Regions from separate parts of the Homo sapiens genome. Here all the other regions are linked to region 3. Evidence: promoter capture Hi-C in 16 types of primary human blood cells and fetal thymus (Javierre and others, 2016). All regions are on one chromosome and are shown on one strand. The core of a region is centred on a gene start or on the middle of the fragment in contact, and the rest is flanking DNA. Distances in the headings are between cores, read along the strand shown. Region 1 has its middle 33 kb from the start of PPP2R1B. Region 2 overlaps ALG9 (ALG9 alpha-1,2-mannosyltransferase). Region 3 holds the start of SIK2 (salt inducible kinase 2). Region 4 overlaps ALG9 (ALG9 alpha-1,2-mannosyltransferase). Region 5 has its middle 6.1 kb from the start of PPP2R1B. Region 6 overlaps PPP2R1B (protein phosphatase 2 scaffold subunit Abeta).

Region 1 (2,700 bases), core at 63-2,562, 130 kb before region 3:
CACAGTCTGTCCTGTACACACACTGACCCGAGACCAGCCCCTGCGCCACGTCCCAGCTAAGACCATCTTCTGCCTTCCATGCCCCTTCTACTCTTGTTTCTGGTTTTTTCCTGCCTGCCTTATTTTCCCCAAACTCAGAGAGTCCCTTGGGCCCTGAGGGTCTCTGACTTGTGCCTTTCGATGCGGGTCTCTTCTCTGGATTTAATCAGCACCTGCTGGTGAACCAGGCTGTTCTGGGCCTGAGGCTGGAGCCATTCTGCAGCTCAGGAACCTCACTTGTCCTAGAGCCAGCCTCTAGCATCTAGCTGCATGTCCTGTTCCTCCCACAGAGTTAGGCTGGCAGGGCCTTCGCGCTGCCCTGGGGGGTCTCAAGGGCAGCTCTGAGGAGCTCTGCTGGGAGTGTGTGAAGGGGAGGAGCTCCTTAAGGGCCAACCTCTTGGCCAGCGGATTTTGTTCTCTTGAACCCAGAAAGACTACAGGAGATGTGAGTCCAGTCAAACTGAGGACTGATGACAAAGACCAAAGCCCAGGGATGTTCAGTCCCATCCCCAGTGGCTTCCAGCTAAGGCAATTGGACCTTGAAGTCCATGGGGAAGTCAGACGTAGGCTGGTGACAGGGCACACGGGAGCAGGTCCTTAGGCTGACCTCCTGTCAGTGCCCTCTCCACTGTGGGGCCTAGGGGCCGAGCTGTCCGCACAAAAAGACTCCCCCAGGCCTTCCAAGTCTTTTCCACACTGGAGCTTGACCTAACAGTTGGAGATAAAAAAGTCCTCCTACCTGTGACATAGATTCTCAGGGATGTTCTTATGTTTGTGGTACCCATGTCTGATGCCTAGAACTCATTTCCGAAAATTCAGAAATCCTGGGGCAGAGTTCCCAGTTCTTAGCCTGAAGCAGATGCTCAGAACAGCACAACCACCCTTAAGTCAGTGAAGACAGAGCTCACAGGCAAGAAGCAGCCATTTTCTGTACCTAGTGTTGGGGCAGGCAAGAGTTAAAGTAAGATAGGCAGAGTGGGACTCTGTGACAGCCCTCCAGGGGAGTGGGGGTCTTCCAGGAGTGCCAGGCCAGGCTGCATTTGCCCCTCGCAGTAAACCCTGGGGTGAAACCAGCCAGCCTGTGCTCCAAGTTACCACTGGAGACACCAGCCTTTACAATGATTTGCCTGGGTTAGTGGCAGGGCTGAGAGGGCGCCAGGGGCCGAGGCCTCTGTCAGAGGTTCTTTGCTGCCTCCCAGAATGTCCCTGCCTGGAGGGTGGCCAGGTGGTGGCTCCCGGGCTGGGTGGGAGCCGGGCCTTGCTCTCCCAGGCTTGCTCTGTGCCTAGCCCTCCTTGCCTGGCCCTCTCATCCCTGGTTCCCTTCCACTGCCTGCCTGCCCTTCAGCCCTCACTTTGCTGGCACAGGGGCACTGCTAAGCATTTGGGCTCTGTAGCGACTGGAAGGCAGTTCTGGCGGATCCCAGACAGAAGAGACAGGCAAGGCTGTGCGCTCCGGGAGCTATGTGTGGCGTGCTTGGAGGAAAGGGCTTGGTGGGCTTTTCCTCCATTCCATTGTGTCCCACCCCCAACTATGTGGGTGGCCCTGGGGTGACAATGAACAGTCTCCTCAGGGTCTGATTTGTCAGTCAGCCCCACTCGGGGCATTTCACTTTTGGGGAGTGAGGAGCTGGAGCCAGAACTGTCCCAGCCGACCTGAGGAGAGAGTGACTCAGTTCTCCCTTTGAGAAGCTCAATCCCTAATGCCTCATTTTCCTCTGGGCCCACATTTTCTGAGCTTTTCTGCTTATCCAGCTTTTGGGGGCTCGGCTCCAGGGGAAGTCCGCTTCCCATGCTGTGGCTCCCTCCTGTCTCCACCCTCCCAGACACTGTGCTGGCTCGGGGGCTCAGCCCAGCTCATGCTTTCCCTGGGCTTGGAATCTCTCTTTGCCAATTTCAGAGCAGCTCTGAGTCAGTCTGCCCTAGGAAATCCCCCCAGAAACACGGACAAAGGGAGGCAGCAGCAGGAAGGCTTGCTGGAAAGAACAGTGGCCGAGGCGCCTGGCAAGCTCTCTGCCCTGCCTGACCTTGGGTTTGGCCTGAGTGATTTGTGGGCACAGCTTCATACCTGGGGGGAGGCAGGTGTGCCAGTGGCCCCTGTGTCTGAGGGAGGGCCCAGCCCCTTCGCCTCAGTCAGGACCCACATCTGCCTCCTAAGGGACGTTGTCCAGGATGATTCCTGTGCGATAATCCATCGCTCAAGGGCTGCTCAGCTTTTGAAGTCACTGGTGGGGCTGAAATGAGAAGGGCAGAGCAGCCATGTTCTGTGCAGGTGACATTTCCTTTGTAGCCACATAGCACCCAGGATTTAGTGCACAAAGCCCAGAACTTCCTCCCATGGTGCCCACGGGCTGCTGGCAAGCAGGAGGCTCCCTGTCACCTGGATCCACCCAGGGAGGGATGAGAACCCATCAGCAGGGAGGGTCCCTCTGAGCTTTGTTTGTTTGTTTATTTGTTTTTTGAGATGAAGTCTTGCTGTGTCGCTCAGGCTGGAGTGCAGTGGTGCGATCTCAGCTCACTGCAACCTCTGCCTACCAGGTTCAAGTGATTCTCCTGCCTCAGTCTCCAGAGTAGCTAGGATTACAGGCGCCCGCCACCACACCTGGCTAATTTTTGTATTTTTAGTGGAGATGGGGTTTCACCATGTTGGCCAGGCTGGTCTTG
Region 2 (2,700 bases), core at 20-2,519, 190 kb before region 3:
GCATTTGTTCCAGCTATTGCTGTGTAACAGTCATCCATACTTAGTGGCGTAAAACAACAATAGTTGATTATTGTTTCTTCTCGTGGTTCTGGGAGTTGATGGGCTCAACTGGCCAGTTCTTACTCAGGATCTGTAATGCATTAGCCATCAGATAGTGGCTGGGGCTGGAGGCAGCTGAGTGGCTTTCTCACTCATATGTCTGGATGCTGGCTCTTGGCTAGATCTCAGCTGGGGCTGTCAGCCAGAACACCTATGTGTCTTCTTTATGTGGCTTGGGCTTCCTTATAGCATGGTGGCTGACTTCCAAGAGTAAGCATCTCAAGACCTGCATAATTTTTTATGACCTAGCCTTGGAAGTCACACAGTATCACTTCCTCCTCATTCTGTTTGTTGGCAGCAAGCCAGTTGAATAGCTCATGCTCAAGGGGAAAAGAAGTAGACTTCCCCTGTTGATGGGAGGAGTGTCAAAGAAGTATGGACATGCTTTAAAGCCACTACTTATCTTGCAATGCCGTTCTCCATCCAAATTGGATAAACTTTGAAACTTTTCTTTTTAAAGGTGATTTCTTACAGAAGAGGCATATAGTACATGCAGTAGTCCAGCAGGCTTTTTCCATCTGCAACTTCTTATTACCCAGATGGAAGGAGAGACTCCACCCGATGGCAGAATTTGGTTGCAGGCCAAGTTTGACATGCTTCAGATGGTGCTTCCCTCCTTTGGGTAGAATTAGTTCTCCCTCCTAAGCAGTAATTGGAGTTTTTTGTTTTTTCCCTGTATGTCAATCATGGTGGTGCCCTTAGCTTCCTCAGCGATGCCAAGAATACTGAGAAACAGGAAGAAGAGATCAGAGTTTCTATACTTTGGTATTTATCAACTTTTATTCTCTTATACTTTCTGTTTCACTGTCTATCAGTTTTTGGCTTTTCCTCCTCATATTCTCCCAGAATACTTTCTTGAGACCCTTCGTCTGGCAGAGCTACCCCAGGCCAGATTTGGCTTCAAAACACATGGTGTTTTGCCATTATTCAGCTGCTTAATCATTAAGATCTGCTGACATTTTAAGAAGAATAAACCTTTTTTCATTTTTCTGAAGCTTAGAGAGTCTGCTTTCCATTGTTGTGAAATGAGTTCTCTAGAAAGAAACCATTTACAGACCATCTGTTCTCTAAGTCCATGCCATAGAAGCTCTCAGGTTTGAAGAGCATGTAACATGTTTTAGGACCACCACTGCTTTTAGCTGGCTTAGCCTAAGCAGGCAGCATCATCAGAGGTCTTTGTTCCAAGTTCCTTGAGAGTTAGAACCACATTACATGTTGATTCTCTACAACTCCTAGCACATTATAGAGTCTTAGAAAATATGTATTGATTGTGTATTTCACATTCTTAAAACTGGATTTATACTAAATAGAAAAAAGATGGTATAAGGTTTTCTTCAGAAGCTTCTGATGCCCTTATTTGGTAAAATAAAGATTATTGAATTATTTTAAGACATACTCATTGTTTATTTCATCTCTGTAAAGCTTACCAGAATCATTTGCTGATGTGACCCCTAATCCTTCTATTTGTCACATAAAAGAAGCCCAAATGAGGGTCCGAAGAGCAGGGACGAAAACTCTCTCGAACATTGGCATCCTCTCCACAGGACTGATGAATGGGACATAGAGTACCTTTATATCTAAGTAGCTGTGAGATGGGAAAAAAGACTGGTGAAGAGCATTTCTCCAGCAACCTTGATGGGACTGAGGTCAGAAAATGGCCAGTTGCCTAATAGCATTTTTCCCCAGTTCCTCACTCTGAATATTTGCTAAAGATGACTGATCAAAAGGTTATGATGTTATGCCAGATGTTGGCCAAGGCCACAAATCAGTGGAATGATCCACTCTGTATACCAGTCTCACGATGCCACGATTCCAGTTTGTGCCTCAGTAAACTTCCTAGTCATTACACATAATGTATTTTTGGAGGTTGCTCCATATAGTCAAAATCATGAATATTTATTGAACATCAAGGGTCTATTGAACATGCCTGCTGAAAGTAAAATATCATACTGGTCACATGGATAATGCTGATTCAGCAAATTCTGTGTAAACGGCCACCTGCGGGGTATATTGCCATTATACAATTATGGGACCTTTTGCAGTATATTTTCTTTAGCAACACGCCTTCCATGCCCCCTTGCACTCTGACATCCCATGGGCCACCACAGCCCCCCAGCTCCCCACTCTAGACTTCTGCTTTGCTCTGCCCCACGTAATGGCTTTAGGATTGAATTGCTTAGGAAGAGAACAGAAAAAAAACTTTAGATTATTTTTGATATTTCCTTTTCCTTGTGGAAGATGAATATTGTAAGAAGGGTGGGAGGTAAACCAGATGCTCTGGTTTAAGAGTCAGAGCATAGGCGCTCATTCATTCACAGACTATTTATTGAGGACTTTCTGTGGCACTTTCCTAAAAACTAGAGATAGAGCAGTTAGATAAAATTCCATCCTCAAGGGACTGGTGGAGTATAACATACAGCATGGAACTCCTCTTTTGGATAACAGGGTTGTAAGTCACCTTTGCATTAGTTACCATTAGAATAATGTCTCTCACCGCATTTCCTGTTAAAAACTATTAAATAACAGTCACATTTTTGCTCCATACCAGCTTTTTGAGATGTGCTTAAATTGCTTGATATGGAACTATAGGTTGACTATCAC
Region 3 (2,700 bases), core at 198-2,697:
CCTTACATAAGTCATTCTGAAAAGAAGTCCTACTTTATTCTACACTCAAACTCCAGTACATTCGTACTAACAAGGGAAAAAGCAGAATAGGACCAAAACTGGAGGGCAAACAAACAGGAAAAGGATGAAACTCCAGGAGGAACTACAATAAGGCAGAGTAGAGTACGTCAAAACCACTAGGTTTTATTCTAAAGAATGGTTTTGTTTCTACCGTTCTTCTAAGGTATTTAATTTGCACGTCTTAAAATAGAGACCCTGAGGAGAGCAGCTTGAGGCAGTGGAAGGAAGGGGGGCGGGTTAGGTAAGAACAGAGACTTGTGAGAGAGTATGTGCGGTGCATTAGAATGTGCAATGAAGAGGGTGCAGGATTCACCGTCAGGAAGCAGTTGAGGGCTTTATGAGTAGAGGCAGAATCTGATATGGTTTAAAGAATGCGTATTACAGCCAGAATGCACACCTGGTACAGTGACAACCCTAGACAAGTAGAAGACCAATCCACCCACCGTGCAAATGCAGAGATGACCATTTTAACCAGTTCTATTGTCTGGGGCATTAAATGGAAATGCCCCAGGCAAGAGATCAAGCTAGCCAGACACCAAATCAGAGACACCCTGGGCCAAAAGGAAGGAGAGGAGATGGACAGTGGCCGTGGGGGTATTCCCAGCCATGGGGCCCTTCCTCGTCGGGCAGGGGAGGGGCGCCGGGGTCACGGGGGCCGCACGATCCCCCATCCGCGGAGCCCAAGCGCAGGCGGTCCCCTCCTCGGGCCGGCGACGTCTCTCACGGCGCAGCCTGGGAACACCGAGACTTCCCCTCCCACCCCACCCCCAGCCGAAAGCAGGGAAGACGCGGAACTTGGGCTCCGGAGCGGAGGCCACAGACCAGGTCACGGCCCGGGTGGGGGGCTCTGGGCGAAATTCCGGGTGGCCACCGGGGGTGGCGTAGGGGAAAGCAAAGCCCCGGCTGGTTGCGTTTCCAGTCGGACGACACTCGGGTCCGGGTGCCCGGGCCCGATCCCTTCGCTGCTCACCGACCCCCTGCACCTCCTGGGTCCTCACAGTCCCAGGCCCGCTCGCCTCCGCCAGTGAGGCGGCCTCTCGGGTCTCCCCGGTCCCACCACTGCGGCCGCCCCTCTCGGTAAGCAGCTCCTCTCCCGAACCCTCGCCTCGGACGCTCCCGCCGAGCCCCGGGCCGCACCTCCGTCTTGGTGATCCGGTGCCGCCCCAGCTTCACCACAGCGAAGTTGCCCTTGCCCAGCGTGCCCTCGATGTCGTAGAACCCCACCCGGACCGGCCCGCGCTGCAAGTGCCTCGGGCCATCCGCCATGACCATGCTGGGCCCCGCTGCTAGACACGGCGGACAGGAGCGCGGGCGGGCGGGAGGGTTGGCAGCGCGGCTTGGCTTGGGCGACGGCCGCTCCGCTTGCTCCTTCGCTCCTTCGCTCCTTCCCTCCCGCTCCCCAGGGCCCAGCCAGGCGCGCGCCGCCGCTGACGTGCGCCGACGTCAGGGGGCCGGGGCAGGGGGGCGGGGGCGGGCCCGAGCCTGGATTGGTCACCATGGCGACCGAAGCACCGCCGACGTCGGCTGCTGGAGAGTGGGGGACGGCGCACGGGGAGGGGCGCGAGCCTGGCCGGCGCGCTCCTTCCGGGCTCAGACGCCCTCCCCTCGCCCCTCCGCCTCACCGCTGCCAGGGGCGGGGTCGCTGCTCGGCCCGCTCCGTTCCTCGGCCTTCCAGGCGAAGGGCAAGAGCGAGCCCTGGCGGACCGTGCGGAGGGGTGCAGAGACCTGGATGCGGCCTGCGATCTCCTTCCCCGCCCCGGCGTTCTCCGCCCACCCGGGGTCCTTCCCGCCAAAACCTCTCACCTACAAGTACAGCGCGTCCTAAATTTGGCACCGGCAAAGAACTGTGGCTGAGCAATGCGTTGCTCACAGGCTCCTTTCTTTGTGTCCTTTTCTCTTCTCGTTGCTATATATAATAAAACCCTCCACGTTTTGATGTCTCCGAGGAGTCATTCTGACAGCAGTGCAGTCGCTTATAGACTCACAGAATGTCAATGTCAGCGCTGAAGAGATCTTGGAGATCACTTAATCCAGAGATTTGGAGCCTCATGTGAGCTTCAGAGTTTGGAACCCCCTAAAACACAGGCCAGTTTTTGCTTATGTGAGCATGTCTCTGGGGAGATGGACCCGTAGCTTCTGTCAGATTCCCAAACGCGTTGGTGACTCTGAAAAAGTTTAGAAATATTTCTCTAATCCAATTTTTTTCCCCAAAGGACGAAGAAGACCTCAAGGAATAAAGGGAATTGCCTAGGTCACACAGGCAATAGTCGAGGTAGGATTATAAATCACACCACGCTTCCAAATGTGACTCAAGGAAACAGGGACAGTGACACCTCACTATTTTGAGATGTATCATATGCCTTTATATCTTGGTTTCTAAATACCATTCTCCACCTAAAGGAGCCAGACTCCGTGGCGAGATGGCTCATTCGAGGGCAGAGACAGGGAAAGTATAAAATGCCCTTGAAAGATCCTGCTCCTTAAAGCAAGGAGATTTCTTGGCTATGTCAAGGAAGATATGTCAAAAGAAAGCAGATGGCTCGAAGGTGCTCCCCCCTTACCAAATCTGAGACAGTTTGAGTATCAGGAATAAATAATGGGCCGGGCTTAGTGGCTTACGCCTGTAATCCCAGCACTTTG
Region 4 (2,909 bases), core at 115-2,614, 230 kb before region 3:
AAAGGCTGAGGTGAGAGGACTGCTTGAGCCCAGGAGTTTGAGGCTACAGTGAGCTACAGTCATGCCACTACACTCCAGCCTGGACAACATAGCAGGACCCTCTCTCTGAAAAAATAAAAATTAAAAAAAGATTAAAAATGGTAGCATGATTTTACATATGTTAAATGGTTAAAAGTGCATAAATACTACAATAAATGTGGCTGTTTACTTTGCAGAAGACTTGAAGTTTGCTTGTGGCCTGGTATTGGAAGGATTGCAGCTTGTAGTAGTAAAAGGATTATCTGAAATCTTACAAAAGTTATAATAGCAAAGGTGAATGGGTGGATGTGGCTTATAACACAGTGAACTGAGAAGGCCAGTAGATATATTTGTGTATGTATACACTATGTGTATTCCTATGCTGATTGGTTCCACTGAGTGTACTTTTCTGCATTCACCTAGTGTTTCCTGTGAATTAAATGACATAATCAAATGCAAAAATTAAATTACGCTCAAAGTGTTCCCTAATATATCCCTTTGTTGGAAAAAATTTGCATTTTTGAAACTAGTATTAGAACAGAATTGACTGTATATCAGTTCAAAATATTCTTTATTTCATTCTTCTTTATCCCTGCTTTTCCAGTTTAACCAGTAAAAAGAATCATAGATTTAGAAGGGAACTTAAAATGTAGTCTGTGATCTTTTTATTTTATGGATGAAAGAACTGAGATCTAGAGAGATTATAACTTGATAAAGATTAGCCCTAGGATAAAAGGCTTGGTTTCAGGATTCTTCAATATTATTTTCATACCACCTCTTTCTTGTTTTTGTGTGATAGCTAATCATTCTTTGATGTTACAAGGCCAAATAGACATTAAGTAGCTGAGCATTGCTTTCTGTTTGTTTGTTTTGTTTTGTTTTTCAGAGGCAGGGTCTCACTCTGTCACCCAGGCTGGAGTGCAGTGTCATCATCATAGCTCACTATAGCCTCGAACTCCTGGGCTCAATCGATCTTCCCACCTCAGCCTCCTGAGTAGCTGAGACTACAGGTGCTGTAAAGACCCTGTCTCTATGGAGAATTAGGCTGGCATGGTGGCTCACACCTGCAATCTCAGCACTTTGGGAGGCCGAGGTGGGAGGATCACCTGAGGTCAGGAGTTCAAGATCAGCTTGGCCAACATGGTGAAACCCCGTCTCTACTAAAAATACAAAAATTAGCCAGGCATGATGATGTGCACCTGTAATACCAGCTACTTAGGAGGCTGAGGCAGGAGAATCACTTGAACCCAGGAGGCGGAGGTTGCAGTCAGCCGAGATGGCGCCACTGCACTCCAGCCTCGGTGACGGAGCGAGACTCTGTTTAAAAAAAAAAATTTAAATTAGCCACTACCCCTAGCTAATTTTTAAATTTTTTGTGGAGAGAGGGCCTCACTGTCTTGCCCAGGCTGGTCTCGAACTCCAGGCTTCAAGTGATCCTTCTGCCTTGACCTCCCAAAGTGGCGGGATTACAGGTGTGAGCCACTGTGCCCAACTCATTACTTTTTTAAAAAATTACTTTCCATTTCTAGTTTATATATGACAGGTACTTACTTTAAGTAGTAAATATTATGTTTAACAATAAATAAAAATGATCAGGATTTCCCCCGACATGCTTTCCTTTCTTCTCTTTTTCTTCCTTTCTCTCTCATTTTATCCCTTCTCCTGCCCTTTTTGGAAGTCCTTATTGGAGGAAAAAATAACTTGCCCTATTTGTTTCCTCACTAATTGTTATCAGTCTCGGGTATCAAGGCAAGCAGATTCAAATTGCTGTAATATATACAGTGCAATTAGATTAGAGTCTACTAAGAATTTAATTGGAGAATGTTCAAAATACTTCTCTAAAGTTAATTTTTTTAGTATTCATTATGTTGGCATTTAGAAATTAATTGATGTTTCCATGATCTATAATGATTGAATGAACAAAAATTTTTACCTGTGAGTTTAGATTTTTACAGTGCAATGAATTTTTTCTTGTGAGTTTAAAGATTCAATCAACAAATATGTATTTAGCAAGGCTATATGAGAGACAAAAAACTAAGACAGTCTGTGGCTCTGGAGGACAACTACTTTTTAAAATTTAACTGGAGCATATCTAAAAGAGGAAATGAAAAGACAGAAAAATACTTGAAATTTTTCCCTTTCAGATGTTTCCTCCCAGGCCTCCATGTTCTTATTTCAATAAAGGAAATATCATGGGAGGATATTGATGATTGGCTATTTGATAGTGGCAAGAGCATTGACTGGAAGTTAGGAGAGTCTGATTCTTTTCTGGAATCAAGTGAAATGTATTTTCCTTTTAAATGACTGGGAATTTCTAAGACCATTGACATTTCTTTGCTTCCCTTTCCAATTTGCTGAAACTACACCTGAAATCCAACTGGAGTGTTTATATTTTAGCTTATCCCATTACCTATTTTCCTGTCAAATATTTTATGGCAGCACAGTTTATCTTGAGACATGTGTCCTGAGCCGGGGCCCTCATGACCAGAGATGGAAGTCTACATGCTGCTTCTGTCCTGGAAGAGATGAGTACTGTTAGAGGCTTACTCTGTGCTGTGTCCCGCTCCAAGAGTGTGATGCTGGTGTTTGAGAGTTGAGATGATGTCACTGAAGACTGCAACCCTGACAAAGTTTCTGTTACAGCTGATGAGGAAAAGCTGTGACAATATTTATTACTACCCAGCTCTCCTTAGCTCACTCTTCCCCCGACAAAATACACATCTTTTATTATTGGGATCTCAACCTCTGTTTCAGGCCTTCTATTTCCTTTGAGAATGTGTAGTTTTGTTTACATCTGGAGTGGTATTAAATTGTTATCCTTAACATATGCTTGTTTATAAGATGTAAACAATGTGATATTGATGATGGATAAATTGGCTTGAATTCCCCCG
Region 5 (2,700 bases), core at 100-2,599, 170 kb before region 3:
TGATCATGCTACTGCACTCCAGACTGGGTAACAGAATGAGACCCTGTCTCAAAAAAAAAAAAAAGCAAAAACAAAAGATGATTTTCGTATTAGCCATTTAGGAGCTATGCTTTTTCACTTAACACCATAACAAAACATTTTTTTCCGAGTGGTATATAGGCCCCTGGCAAGATAATGGGGGTTCTGGCCTGAGAACACTGGAGCCCTTTAATAGGACTCAAAGGCCTAAGGCTTTTGAGAAAGGTCACTGTGCCTGTTTATCTTCAGGTTTTCCGTAGCTTAAATCTACCCTTGTGACGCCCATAATCCCAGCACTTTGGGAGGCGAAGGCAGGCGAATCACCTGAGTTCAGGAGTTTGAGAGCAGCCTGGCGAACATGGTGAAACCCCGTCTCTACTAAAAATACAAAAATTAGCCAGGCATGGTGGCACATGCCTGTAGTCCCAGCTACTTGGGAGGCTGAGGCAGAAGAATCACTTGGACCCGGGAGGTGGAAGTTGCAGTGAGCTGAGATTGCCCCATTGTACTACAGCCTGGGCAACAAAGCAAGACTCAGTCTCAGGAAACAAAAAAAAAATCTACCATTGTGGCTAAAGGAGATACTAATCCTGACTGCTGTTCTTAGAGAACTGGGGCCTGTACACCTTGAACATAGTCTCCAGATGTACTCTCTTGTGTTTGGCATGGGCATCAGATTCAGTGAGCCCTTTGTAATAAATAATACAACTTCTGTATTTTTTTTTTTTTAAGTAGAGAGGGAGTTTCACTATGTTAGCCAGGATGGTCTCGATCTCCTGACCTCGTGATCCGCCTGCCTCGGCCTCCCAGAGTGCTGAGATTACAGGCGTGAGCCACCGCACCCGGCCTAAATAACACAACTTCTAACATCTGCATGGTGCTTTCCACTAACAAAGCACCTTTCATCATGACTCTCACTCCTCACAAGTCTGAGAGGTAAAAGCTCTATTTTACCGATGAAAAAAATCTTCTGGAACAGGTATTCTGACTCTGTAAGTCATGTACCTCTTTCATTCTTTCATGTGGGTCCTTTCTGTTGCCAAAGTTCAATTGATTGCAATATTTTCCTATTTGCTCCCACTTCCTCAGTAGATAAAAACTGTTAATGGATAGTATTTGAGTGCTTTCTCTTGCCAGGCACTACCTATGCACTTTATATGAATTATTTAATCTTTTTAACAACCACATGAGGTAAGCTCAACAGCCCCACCGTATAAATGTAGAAACCAAGATTCAGAGAGGATAGGTTATTTGCCCAAAGTCACACAGCTAGTAATTGGTAGAGGTGGGATTTCAATCTACATCTTCCTGACTCCAGAGTATACTCTCCTAACCATTGTATGTACTATTGTGAAAGGTAACTGAGTGTCCTCTTTCTTTTTCTTTTTTCTTGCTATATTGCCCAGGCTGGAGTGCAGTGGTGCAATCATGGCTAACTGCAGCCTCTGCCTCCCAGGCTCAAGCGATTCTCCCACCTCACCCTCCCAAATAACTGGTACTACAGTCAGGCACCTCTGTGCCCGGCTAATTTTTGTATTTTTTGTAGAGATGAGGTTTTACCATGTTGCCTAGGCTGGTCTCAAACTCCTGAGCTCCAGAGATCTGCCCACCTGGACTTCCCAAAGTGCTGGGATTACAGGCATGAGCCACCTCACCACCTTGCCCGGCTGTCCTATTTCTTTGATTTGCTCTTCCCAAGAATTCAAGCAAAGTTTGCCTTGGAAATCCAATACCTTTGTTATATGTGGTGATGAGCTGTAGAACAGAGGTAGGAGATGGAGGAGGGAGTAGCAATAATCCCTGATTATGAGTTCTGCACCTGCTTCTGATTTATTGGGACATCAGGTAAAGTCCCTTTCTCTTTGTTGGGGTATTCCCACCCATAAAAATGAGATTAAAAATTTGCCATGAAGAAAACACAGAAGAAAAAGAAGGCTAAAATATTGAGCTGAAATTGAAGGGAAAATATTTGAGTTCCACAGAATGGTGACATACTTTGCATAAATACAAATTTAAAATATCATTAATGCTATGGTGATAATCACTACTTTGCGATGAATTAAGTACAGCCCTCGGAATCAGTTTACCAGGGTCATCTTGCCAAATGAAGACAGTTGGAAAATGCTTCCGTGTGCCTCAGGTTTCCCGCCCCTGTCATCCACCACTCCCTTGATGTCCCTTTCAGGGGGACAACAGTCTGAATCTGCCCTGAGACACTTACAGGTCTCCTACACTTGGCCTTCTCACACAGTGGGGTGACTGTGGAGCAGATCAGCATTTGAATGAGAACCTATTTGTAAAGCTCTTTGGCTGTAAGGGAGACGCAAGTTTAGTAAACTTGAGGCAAGGGGCCAGAGAAGATGACAGTGATGTCACTTCGATCCTCATGACTGATGCTTTTCTTTTTCCCAGTGGCGCTATCTCGGCTCACCACAACATCTGCCTCCTGGGTTCAAGCGATTCTCCTGCCTCAGCCTCCTGAGTATCTGGGATTACAGGCATGCACCACCACACCTGGCTAATTTTTGCATTTTTAGTAGAGACAGGGTTTCACTATGTTGGCCAGGCTGGCCTCAAACTCCTGACCTCAGGTGATCCACCCTCCTCGGCCTCCCACAGTGCTGGGATTACAGGCATGAGCCACCACGCCCGGCCAATGACTGATGGTTTTCTGATGTGACT
Region 6 (2,700 bases), core at 104-2,603, 150 kb before region 3:
TCTCTTTTATATGAAGGTAAACCTTAATCTCATTATTTTTGTTTGTTTGTTTACCTTAAAGCTCTTTGAGTTTAAAGGTTGACAGGGAATGAATGGGGAAGATGTGTTAATGTGCAACATTGTTATTCATCACTTATTAGCCCATTGTAATTGTAAACTGCTCTTTGGTGCATAGGTTTATGTTACCTAACAAGTAGTCTGAGGAAACATTATCAACTAATCAGTATTGAAATAGTGCTGTCTTTAAATTCCTTGGGGTCAGGCATGGTGGTACATGCCTGTAATCCAAGCACTTTGGGACGCTGAGGTGGGAGGATTTCTTGAGCCCAGGAGTTTGAGACCAGCCTGGGCAACATAGTGAGACCCCATTGCTACAAAAAATACAAAAATTAGTTGAGCCTGGTGGCATGCACCTGTAGTACCAGCTACTTGGGAGTCTGAGGTGGGAGGATTGCTTGAGCCCAGGAGGTTGAGATGGCAGTGAGCTATGATCATGCCACTGTACTCCAGCCTAGGTGACAGGGTGAGACACTGTCTCAAAAAAAAAAAAATTAGGCCAGGCGTGGTGGCTCACACCTGTAATCCCAGCGCTTTGAGAGGCCAAGGTAAGAGGATTGCATGAACCCAGGAGTTCAAGACCAGCCCTGGCAATGTAGTAAGAACCTGTCTCTGCAAAAAATGAAAAAAATTAGCCAGGCCTGGTGGTGCATGTCTGTAGACCCAGCTACTCTGGAGGCTGAAGTGCTTGAGCCTGGGAGGGTGAGGCTGCAGTGAGCCAAGGTCATGCCACTGCACTCCAGCCTGGGCAACAGAGCAAGACTCTGTTTCCCAGAATAATGGTATGGAAGTTTCTGTTGTCTTGTAATAAAGGCTTTTAATTTCGATTTTATTTTAGGAATTAGTATCCGATACCAATCAACATGTCAAATCGGCTCTAGCTTCTGTAATTATGGGATTGTCTACTATTTTGGGCAAAGAAAATACCATTGAACATCTTCTACCTCTTTTCTTAGCTCAGTTAAAGGATGAGGTGGGTCTTGCTTTATGTTCTGTTGCCTTTGATAGTAATTTGATTTTATTTGATTTTGGTTTAGGGTTTCATTAAAATAGAACCCCCAAAAAGAAAATGGATAAAAAAATCATAACTTATTTTAAACCAATGACACCTGTGATTTTGGGTATGGGGTTATAGGTTCCTCAGAAAGTGGGCAAAAGTACCCATTAGAGTAAACCTAGAAATATCTGTTTATCATCTTTACCTGATTTTTGCTTTATACTCCCTGGTTTCTTTAAAGCTAATGTGTCTTTGTTTAAAAAGTTTCATTTATTTAAGTTTAAATATAGTATCAAAAATTATAATGATACCTAATATTTACTGAGTAATTACTACATGGCAAGCATGAGCCTTAGTGCTTTGCATGTATTTTTACATGCAATTCTCACAACAATCCTGTGAGGTAGGTCTTATTATTATCCCTTTTTGTTTGTTTGTTTGTTTGTTTTGTTTTTTGAGACGGAGTCTTGCTCTGTCGCCCAGGCTGGAGTGCAGTGGCGCAATCTCTGCTCACTGCAAGCTCCGCCTCCTGAGTTGATGCCATTCTCTTGCCTCAGCCTCCTGAGTAGCTGGGACTACAGGCGCCTGCCACAGCACCCAGCTAATTTTTTGTATTTTTAGTAGAGACGGGGTTTCACTGTGGTCTCGATCTCCTGACCTCGTGATCTGCCCGTCTCGGCCTCCCAAAGTGCTGGGATTACAGGTGTGAGCCACCGCACCCGGCCAATTATCCCATTTTACAGATGAGAAAGCTGAGGCATAGAGGGTTAAAGTAACTTGAGCAAGGTCTTTCAACAATGACAGATCTGAAATTTGAGTGCATCTGATTTAGTTCCAGAGATTATGCTCTTTACCATCTTACGGACTTTTCTTGTAGTCTTTAGTATTACGGACTTTTAATTGAAATTTCTGATTAAGATCATTTATGTTCCTTGAGTTATTTATGTATTCACTATTATTTCTTCAAGATTATCCATTTTTTTTTCACCTGAGTCTTACCTCACCTTTTATCTTACCCTGACAGGAGACTGTTGGGCAGAGTACTTGATTTTTAAATGTGGTCTTTTGGGGCTTGTGTACTTGCAGTGTCCTGACGTTCGTTTGAATATCATCTCCAATTTGGATTGTGTAAATGAAGTGATTGGAATCCGTCAGCTCTCTCAGTCTCTCCTTCCTGCCATAGTGGAGCTGGCAGAAGATGCCAAATGGAGGGTCCGCCTGGCCATCATTGAGTATATGCCGCTGCTGGCAGGCCAGCTGGTGAGTATGTGTTGCTCCATGAACTGCAGGGTAGTGTCAGATAGTGACAATTTACCATGGCAAGTAGGAGGCCTAGTAGCCTGTATGCTTATGTTTGTTTAGATGCATGAAAGTATGGCCTTGTTCTTGTTACCTATAGGATGGTTTTTATGTTTGTTAGTGCATACGTTTCTTTTCTTTTAAGATGGAGTTTCACTGTTGTTGCCCAGGCTGGAGTGCAATGATGCAATCTTGGCTCACTGCAACCTCCACCTCCTGGGTTTAAGCGATTCTCCTGTCTCAGCCTCCCAAGTAGCTGGGATTACAGGAATATGCCACCACACCCAGCTAATTTTGTATTTTTAATAGAGATGGGGTTTTACCATGTTGGTCAGGCTGGTCTTGAA

Evidence for each region. The method cuts DNA at HindIII sites, captures the fragments that hold promoters and counts their contacts. A CHiCAGO score of 5 or more calls a contact.
Region 1: a contact is called between a fragment that was not itself captured here and the fragment with the promoter of SIK2 in region 3, in 5 of 17 cell types (endothelial precursors, naive B cells, naive CD8 T cells and 2 more). The highest score is 7.0, in endothelial precursors.
Region 2: a contact is called between a fragment that was not itself captured here and the fragment with the promoter of SIK2 in region 3, in 6 of 17 cell types (naive B cells, erythroblasts, activated CD4 T cells and 3 more). The highest score is 7.2, in naive B cells.
Region 4: a fragment that was not itself captured here is called in contact with the fragment with the promoter of SIK2 in region 3 in 8 of 17 cell types (megakaryocytes, total CD4 T cells, erythroblasts and 5 more); the score reaches 9.1 in megakaryocytes.
Region 5: a contact is called between a fragment that was not itself captured here and the fragment with the promoter of SIK2 in region 3, in 16 of 17 cell types (erythroblasts, total CD8 T cells, endothelial precursors and 13 more). The highest score is 17.5, in erythroblasts.
Region 6: a contact is called between a fragment that was not itself captured here and the fragment with the promoter of SIK2 in region 3, in 6 of 17 cell types (naive CD4 T cells, naive CD8 T cells, erythroblasts and 3 more). The highest score is 6.7, in naive CD4 T cells.

What each region holds. Positions count from the first base shown.
Region 1 is chr11:111,732,488-111,735,187 of GRCh38, reverse strand. It overlaps a transcript of PPP2R1B not described here. Among named protein-coding and RNA genes, the nearest start is that of PPP2R1B, 33 kb to the left of the region's middle. RefSeq lists enhancers at 1-144, 1,725-2,541. The HindIII fragment of the contact is 8,776 bases long and covers 1-2,700 here.
Region 2 is chr11:111,794,901-111,797,600 of GRCh38, reverse strand. All of the region lies in intron 14 of ALG9 (ALG9 alpha-1,2-mannosyltransferase), which reads left to right. It overlaps LOC124902756 (a long non-coding RNA gene), which reads right to left. Exons shown (of 2, transcript XR_007062891.1): 1 at 1,527-2,700; 2 at 1-824. Among named protein-coding and RNA genes, the nearest start is that of PPP2R1B, 30 kb to the right of the region's middle. RefSeq lists a silencer at 313-392. The HindIII fragment of the contact is 346 bases long and covers 1,097-1,442 here.
Region 3 is chr11:111,601,196-111,603,895 of GRCh38, reverse strand. It overlaps SIK2 (salt inducible kinase 2), which reads right to left and starts at 1,447. Exons shown (of 15, transcript NM_015191.3): 1 at 1,198-1,447. The coding sequence starts at 1,332. RefSeq lists silencers at 682-841, 1,392-1,831 and an enhancer at 1,922-2,061. The HindIII fragment of the contact is 10,147 bases long and covers 1-2,700 here.
Region 4 is chr11:111,829,492-111,832,400 of GRCh38, reverse strand. The region is part of intron 13 of ALG9 (ALG9 alpha-1,2-mannosyltransferase); the gene reads left to right. Among named protein-coding and RNA genes, the nearest start is that of ALG9, 41 kb to the left of the region's middle. RefSeq lists an enhancer at 2,560-2,699. The HindIII fragment of the contact is 3,201 bases long and covers 1-2,909 here.
Region 5 is chr11:111,771,123-111,773,822 of GRCh38, reverse strand. It overlaps a transcript of ALG9 not described here. Among named protein-coding and RNA genes, the nearest start is that of PPP2R1B, 6.1 kb to the right of the region's middle. The HindIII fragment of the contact is 5,513 bases long and covers 1-2,700 here.
Region 6 is chr11:111,751,773-111,754,472 of GRCh38, reverse strand. PPP2R1B (protein phosphatase 2 scaffold subunit Abeta) reads left to right here. Exons shown (of 15, transcript NM_002716.5): 9 at 896-1,030; 10 at 2,141-2,314. Among named protein-coding and RNA genes, the nearest start is that of PPP2R1B, 13 kb to the left of the region's middle. The HindIII fragment of the contact is 4,602 bases long and covers 1-2,700 here.